Linked DNA regions of Homo sapiens: region 1 is linked to region 2. The links are contacts of gene promoters, found by promoter capture Hi-C in human tissues and cell types (Jung and others, 2019). All regions are on one chromosome and are shown on one strand. Each heading gives the region's core, a stretch centred on a gene start or on the middle of the fragment in contact. The rest is flanking DNA. Distances are from core to core; before and after follow the strand shown. Region 1 has its middle 24 kb from the start of SUGT1P4-STRA6LP-CCDC180. Region 2 holds the start of CTSV (cathepsin V).

Region 1 (3,192 bases), core at 421-2,920, 180 kb before region 2:
ATAAAAAGATTATAGGGTGGAGGAGCAGAGGCTGAGGAAGAATTGGGACCTAGCTCGGCCTGGCGAGGAGCAGCCTGGGGAGGAAGGGAGAGGTCAGATGGGTCTGTAGAAAAGGAAGATTAGAAAGACTCAGCAACACTTGGGGTTGGTACTGAGGGGACAGGCGGGAGGGAAAGAAGGAAGATTTGGGACGAGTTGCACTGGGCACAGAGACTAGGAAGGGACTGATGTGTAAAAGAATGCCTGGACGTCAGGCACCTCAGACCGTTTGCCTATTTTATGACAAGAATTATTTAGATCTTGCAGGATGGAAAAATTCAAAGTGCCATTTTCTGGCTATTTGGAACTACTGTCGAGTTTGTATTGGGGTCAAGCGGCATTGCAGAAGAAAATAAGGCATTTAGGTTTTAGGTCAGGTGTGAGTTGAAGAGGTTTTAAGTTTTTGAGAACACAGGCTAAGGGAGAAGAAGGAGGAATGGAAGGTGGAAGCTTACCTTTAGTGAAGGAGGCAAGCATAGAGAAAAGAGTAGAGACACGGAGAAGGGGTGGGGGGTTCTTGCCCTCCAGAAAAGCAGAGAAGGGGTTGGGGCACAGAAATAAGGGATTGGGGCACAGAGATAAGAGGTCAGGGTGCAGAAATAAGGGATTGAAGCACAGAGATAAGAGGTTGGGGTGCGGAAATAAGTGATTGGGGGTTCTTGCCTCCTAGGAAAGCGGGACTTGCTGCTAAGGGTGAAGGAGAAGGGGTTGGGGGTACTTGCCCCTGCCCCAGGAAAGCGGGACTTGCCGCTGAGGGTGAAGGGGAAGGGGTTGGGGTACTTGCCCCTGCCCCAGGAAAGCGGGACTTGCCGCTGAGGGTGAAGGGGAAGGGGTTGAGGGGTACTTGCCCCTGCCCCAGGAAAGCGGGACTTGCCGCTGAGGGTGAAGGGGAAGGGGTTGAGGGGTACTTGCCCTTGCCACTAAGGGTGAAGGACCAAGGCAGGTGTCCCTGCGTGGTCTGACACCCTTGAAACGTGAGTGTATAATCAGAGAGGCGTCTCTGCAATGATTAAACACCAAGGGAAGGCTGCCTTCCTAGTCCATGACCGGCGCTGGAGTTTTGGGTTCACGGATAAAACATGTCTCTTTTGTCTCTACCAGAAAATGAAAGGAATTGAAATTAAGAGAAGGGAGAGATTGAAGTGTGGCGCCAAGATTGAAAGGAGAAAGAGGTTGAGGGATAGTGAGGGAGGTCGGAGAAGAGAGTAAAAAGAGGCCGCTTACCGGATTTGAAATTGGTGAGATGTTTCTTGGGCTGGTCGGTCTGAGGACCCGAGGTCGTAGGTGGATCTTTCTCATGGAGCAAAGAGCAGGAGGACAGGGGATTGATCTGCCAAGGGAGGTCCCCCGATCCGAGTCACGGCACCAAATTTCATGTGTGTCCGTGTGAAGAGACCACCAAACAGGCTTTGTGTGAGCAACATGGCTGTTTATTTCACCTGGGTGCAGGTGGGCTGAGTCCGAAAAGAGAGTCAGCCAAGGGAGATAAAGGTGGGGCCGTTTTGTAAGATTTAGGTAGGTAAAGGAAAATTACAGTCAAAGGGGGTTTGTTCTCTGGCGGGTAGGAGTTGGGGTCGCAAGGTGCTCAGTGGGCAGGAGTAGGGGTTGCAAGGTGCTCAGTAGGGGTGCTTTTTGAGCCAGGAAAAGGACTTTCACAAGGTAATGTCATCAGTTAAGGCAAGGACCGGCCATTTACACTTCTTTTGTGGTGGAATGTCATCAGTTAAGGTGGGGCAAGGCATATTCACTTTTTTTGTGATTCTTCAGTTACTTCAGGCCATCTGGGCGTATACGTGCAAGTCACAGAGGATGCGATGGCTTGGCTTAGGCTCAGAGGCCTGACAGATAACACACCTGAAAAATATTTACCATATATATTTTTACTAATATATAAAAATATGTATTCAGATGAAAAGTGTATCTTCATCCTACAGGGAATTTATTCTTTATTATATATAATATATATATTACTGATTATATGTATAACAAATTGTATGTATTACTAATATAATGTTATATATATCAGTTATATATATATACAGATAAAAAGCACAACTTTATTTTACAGGGAATTCTTTCCAATCAAATCCGAAAGAAAAGAAGTCTAAAAGTGAGCAAAGTACTTTTTGCAGATCCACAAGTTACTTATGTACATAGGAAAAATTCCTTAGTGTTTCTCATAAGAGAATTTAAGTTAAAAGAGGAATGAGACTGTTTTCCATCCACAGTGTTTGTGAGAATAAAGAGCAGTGGCACTTACACTGCTGCTTGAAGTTTAACTTGCTGATGACTTTTCAAGTGGATAATTTGGAGATAATTACCACATTTTAAAAATGTATATGCCCTTTACCCATCAATTCCATTGTAATAAAATACCTTCAGAAAATAGAGATACATGCACTTTTTTCCCCAGCATTTATGTTAACAAGAACCCATAGAACGGATATGTGGCCATTGAAGGTGGCAATAGGTAGAGAAGTATGTTGATGTGTGAAAATGCATTTTGTTACAGCCAGTGAGGAAAAAGAAATCAGTTTGCTTGCACATACACACAAACATACTATGGTCTGGTGTTAGGTAAAACTATGTACAAAATAGGATAAAATTTGTAACTTCTGAGCATTTGTATTTTAAAGTTTTTTGTTCCTTTTTCTTACGTTTGATTTCTGAAGTGAGCATTTATAAAATTTCTAGTAAAAATATATTATTAATGGAATAAATTTTGGGAAGAGAGAAATGTGAATCTTGTATAGATAAAAATAATTTCTCACTATTTTTTATCATTATTATTGTGAGGGTTGTTATCTTGTTTGAACTTTTAGCTTCTTCAGAAGTAAAAAGGGAATCTTTTTATCTGCTTGCAGATTTTATGTATATACTTTATTATGTGTATATGTTTTTCTTATGTATAGATTCATTACATATAGGCAAACAATGATAGATTAATAATTTCATTATAGTTGTAGTCTTATAAAAATAACAAATAGCAAATATTATTACTATCACAAAAATATTGGTTTATAGAAGTTGTATTTAAAAATATTGAGCTCCCCAACTCTATTCTATCAATCCATTTATTCATCAAACATAACCTGAATATGTTATGTAGCAGACTTTTTGCACTATCTCCCAGGACCCTTCCATACTTAAAAA
Region 2 (3,351 bases), core at 562-3,061:
GTTTGAACAACTGAACCTCTTTGATTTACAGAAATTCGGGGATAGGCACAAGAGCAGGCTACAGTCTGTTTACACCTCCATTTAGATTACAATTCGCTATGTACAGAGAAACCTTTAGGCCAAACTTAAATCACATGGGGAGGCAGCTTTAGGCTAAACTTGATTTCACAAATTTTCAAATTAACAAGTAAAAACTGTGGATATTATTCAATTTAATCTTTAAGAGTTTATTAATCAATATGCATTATAACTTCATTTTTGTAAAAACAAAAAAAGATATGCCTAGAAAAGGGTTATGGAGAGGGCACAAGGGACGTTTATTTTCTAAAACATATTTTTTATAATGGATTTTTTTATATAACTTTAAAAAGAATTAGAAACGTTTCTGAATTATTAATGATTTCCTTAAATCTTTAGCTACATATATTTCTCCATAAAGAGCAGTTCCTCAAACTGCATCACCTCAACCCTGATATTATATATTTTTATTTTTATTTTTATTTTTTGAGACAGAGTTTCGCTCTGTCACCAGTCTGGAGTGCAGTGGCACGATCTCAGCTCACTGCAACCTCCGCCTCTCGGGTTCAAGCAATTCTCCTGCCTCAGCCTCCTGAGTAGCTGGGACTACAGGCGCCCGCCACCACGCCCAGCTAATTTTTGCATTTTTAGTAGAGACAGGGTTTCACCATGTTGGCCAGGATGGTCTCGATATCATGACCTCGTGATCCGCCCGCCTCGGCCTCCCAAAGTGCTGGGATTACAGGTGTAAGCCACCGCGCCCGGCCGGTATTAAACATTTTTAAAGTAAATTTATTAAATCTCAAAAGAAGCACACTTTGAATACTGAGGAAGAGACGTTGTAACCCATAAGCAGAGAGTAGGTAAGTAAAAGCAATTTCCACCACTCTCAGACTGGGCGTAGTGGCTCACGCCTGTAATCCCACCACTTTTGGGAGGCTGAGAGGGGAGGATCGCTTGAGGCCAGGAATTCAAGAGCAGCCTAAGGAAACTTAGCCAAACTCCATTTCTACAAAAGAAAAATTTTTAAAGCAATTTATTTCACCATTCTCAACGCTTTTCTCTTTTTTATTAACCAAATATTTCTGTAACTCTTTTTTTTTTTTTTTTTTTTTTTTTTGGTATTGAAAGACATGGGAGAAGGAAGAATTCCTGAATGCAACAGACTGGGAAGGACGCACCACAAAACGCTCCGCGGTCTCTGGACACCCTATCAGCTAGTCCCGTCCCTCCTGGTGTCCGGTCTCGACCATCCATCCCGTGTTTTGGGAGTGCCTTTCCTTACCAGATTCTTCTAAAGCCCTGATGCACCCACCCTTAAGTGGAAGGTAATGCTTCTGCTGGGGGCTGTGCGTTCTTCCACTCCGTCCCACCTTTGCCGTGGACTAAACAGGAGCCACTGAACGAGAGTACCCTGGCTCCCGGCCCTGCAGATTTTCACCAAAAACTCTAGGACTAAGTTAAAGTAGGGACTGAAATACCACACAGAGCTCGCTGTAAACCACCCGCTCAGCGCAGTAAGTCGGGATAGTCAGTAGATCTGAGCCCTTGAGGGAGGCGCCTCCCCCTCCTCCGCGCAGCCCCCGGGCGCCCGGCCCAGCTTCCCGCAGCCAGGGTGTATTGAGGTAGGCGCGCCCAGACCTGAGACGGGTTGGGACTGGGCTGCGTCACGCGCGGGCTCTAAGCGCCCGGGGCCCCGCCCAGTGGCCGGCACAGCCAATCGCAGCGCGGGAAGGCGGTGGGGGCGGGGAAGGCCGCCTGGAAACTTAAATCCCGAGGCGGGCGAACCTGCACCAGACCGCGGACGTCTGTAATCTCAGAGGCTTGTTTGCTGAGGGTGCCTGCGCAGCTGCGACGGCTGCTGGTGAGCGCCCCCGACCAGACCGAGGGACAGGGCGAAGGGGGACTGGAGGAGGGAACCCCCCTTTAGGGACACTGAGAGGAGGCGGGCGCTTCTGGGAGTGAGAGCTTCTGCCCGGAGCTCTGCCAGCCTCGAGGTGGGGAACGGGGGAGGGCGGTTGGAGACCCCAGGGAGGCGCCGGCACCACTGGGAGGGCCCGGGCGGGGCAGGTCAGTCATCCTGTGGGCTGAAGCCGGACCGGACCGGGCGGCTTCATGCCCCCAGCCTGGCCGCGGAGCCCCCGCTCCCTGCACCGCCGCAAACATTCTCGGGGCGCGGCGGCGCGTGCAGAGGGCGAGAGCAGGCGGTGCGGCCCCGGTCCTGGCCCGCCCGGAGCTCCGGGAGCTGCCTGCCTCGGTCCGGGCCCTGGCCCTGGGGCCCCTGGCTTCCAGCGGCGCGGCCTTGTGACCCTGCCCCGGTTTAGGGGAGCGAGTAGCACAGACCCAAGTGTGGGACGGCGGGAATAGTGGGTGCTCTCCTTCCCAGTGTCTCCTGGAAAGGGATTCCCGAAAGGTTTTATTCCAAAAGGAGAGGTTGGAAGACATAGCTCATCTCCTGCTGTGTATCAGCCAAGAAGGTGTGAGGTGGTGTTCCTTGGGGATCCGCTTGCATCTACTTGGGATGGTACGTCTTCATTAGTGAGGTTTTGCCTGGATGACCTCAGTACAATTGGTGCAAAACCTGGACCAACTCTTTCCTAGTTTTCTAGTTGTTGCCTTAAGCTTCTCACCCGTCAGGTATCTTTCACACCCTTCTCATACCCTAAATTATCGCATATGCTGTTTCAACGCCTCCAACTCTGCAGGCTGCTTTTAATTTTGGTGGGCCCATCAAATACCTCCACTTGGCCTGTTTCAGCCTCTTCCACAGTCCTTGGGGAAATGCTAGGGAGAATAATTGAAATATTTCTATTCCACGGGGGCTGTAAGATGGCTTTTTAGGATTGGTCTAATCAGATACTCATTTCTTTTCTCTTTCTAGGTTTTGAAACATGAATCTTTCGCTCGTCCTGGCTGCCTTTTGCTTGGGAATAGCCTCCGCTGTTCCAAAATTTGACCAAAATTTGGATACAAAGTGGTACCAGTGGAAGGCAACACACAGAAGATTATATGGCGCGGTTGGTAACATCTGAAACTGTCCAGAGGGACTCTGGAGAGAATGGTCCTCGCTGTTGGGAGTTGATAGCCAGAGAGTAGCTTCTAGACACCAGACCTTACCAGGCAATAACCTAACAGCACCCATTATAGGTGCAATATGGGCATATATCTCCATTGTGTCTTGGCTTGGAGAACAGCTCCCAGAGAAGTATCAACCCATCCCTGGCCATGGTTTCTCTTCCATTTCTGCCCGCAAATCGGCTTGGTGAACATGGGTTGGGTAAGTAGACATAAAGTCCACCAGCTATATGTTTGCCTCTAGAATGAAGAAGGATG

Evidence for each region. The method cuts DNA at HindIII sites, captures the fragments that hold promoters and counts their contacts. A contact is called where the count stands out against the background at its distance.
Region 1: a contact is called between a fragment that was not itself captured here and the fragment with the promoter of CTSV in region 2, in 1 of the 25 tissues and cell types used here (heart right ventricle).

What each region holds. Positions count from the first base shown.
Region 1 is chr9:97,213,185-97,216,376 of GRCh38, reverse strand. It overlaps the pseudogene ANKRD18CP. Among named protein-coding and RNA genes, the nearest start is that of SUGT1P4-STRA6LP-CCDC180, 24 kb to the left of the region's middle. RefSeq lists enhancers at 1,043-1,606, 1,607-2,172. The HindIII fragment of the contact is 4,674 bases long and covers 1-3,192 here.
Region 2 is chr9:97,037,602-97,040,952 of GRCh38, reverse strand. It overlaps CTSV (cathepsin V), which reads left to right and starts at 1,811. Exons shown (of 8, transcript NM_001333.4): 1 at 1,811-1,882; 2 at 2,900-3,035; 3 at 3,338-3,351. The coding sequence starts at 2,910. RefSeq lists a silencer at 1,467-1,776. The HindIII fragment of the contact is 6,962 bases long and covers 1-3,351 here.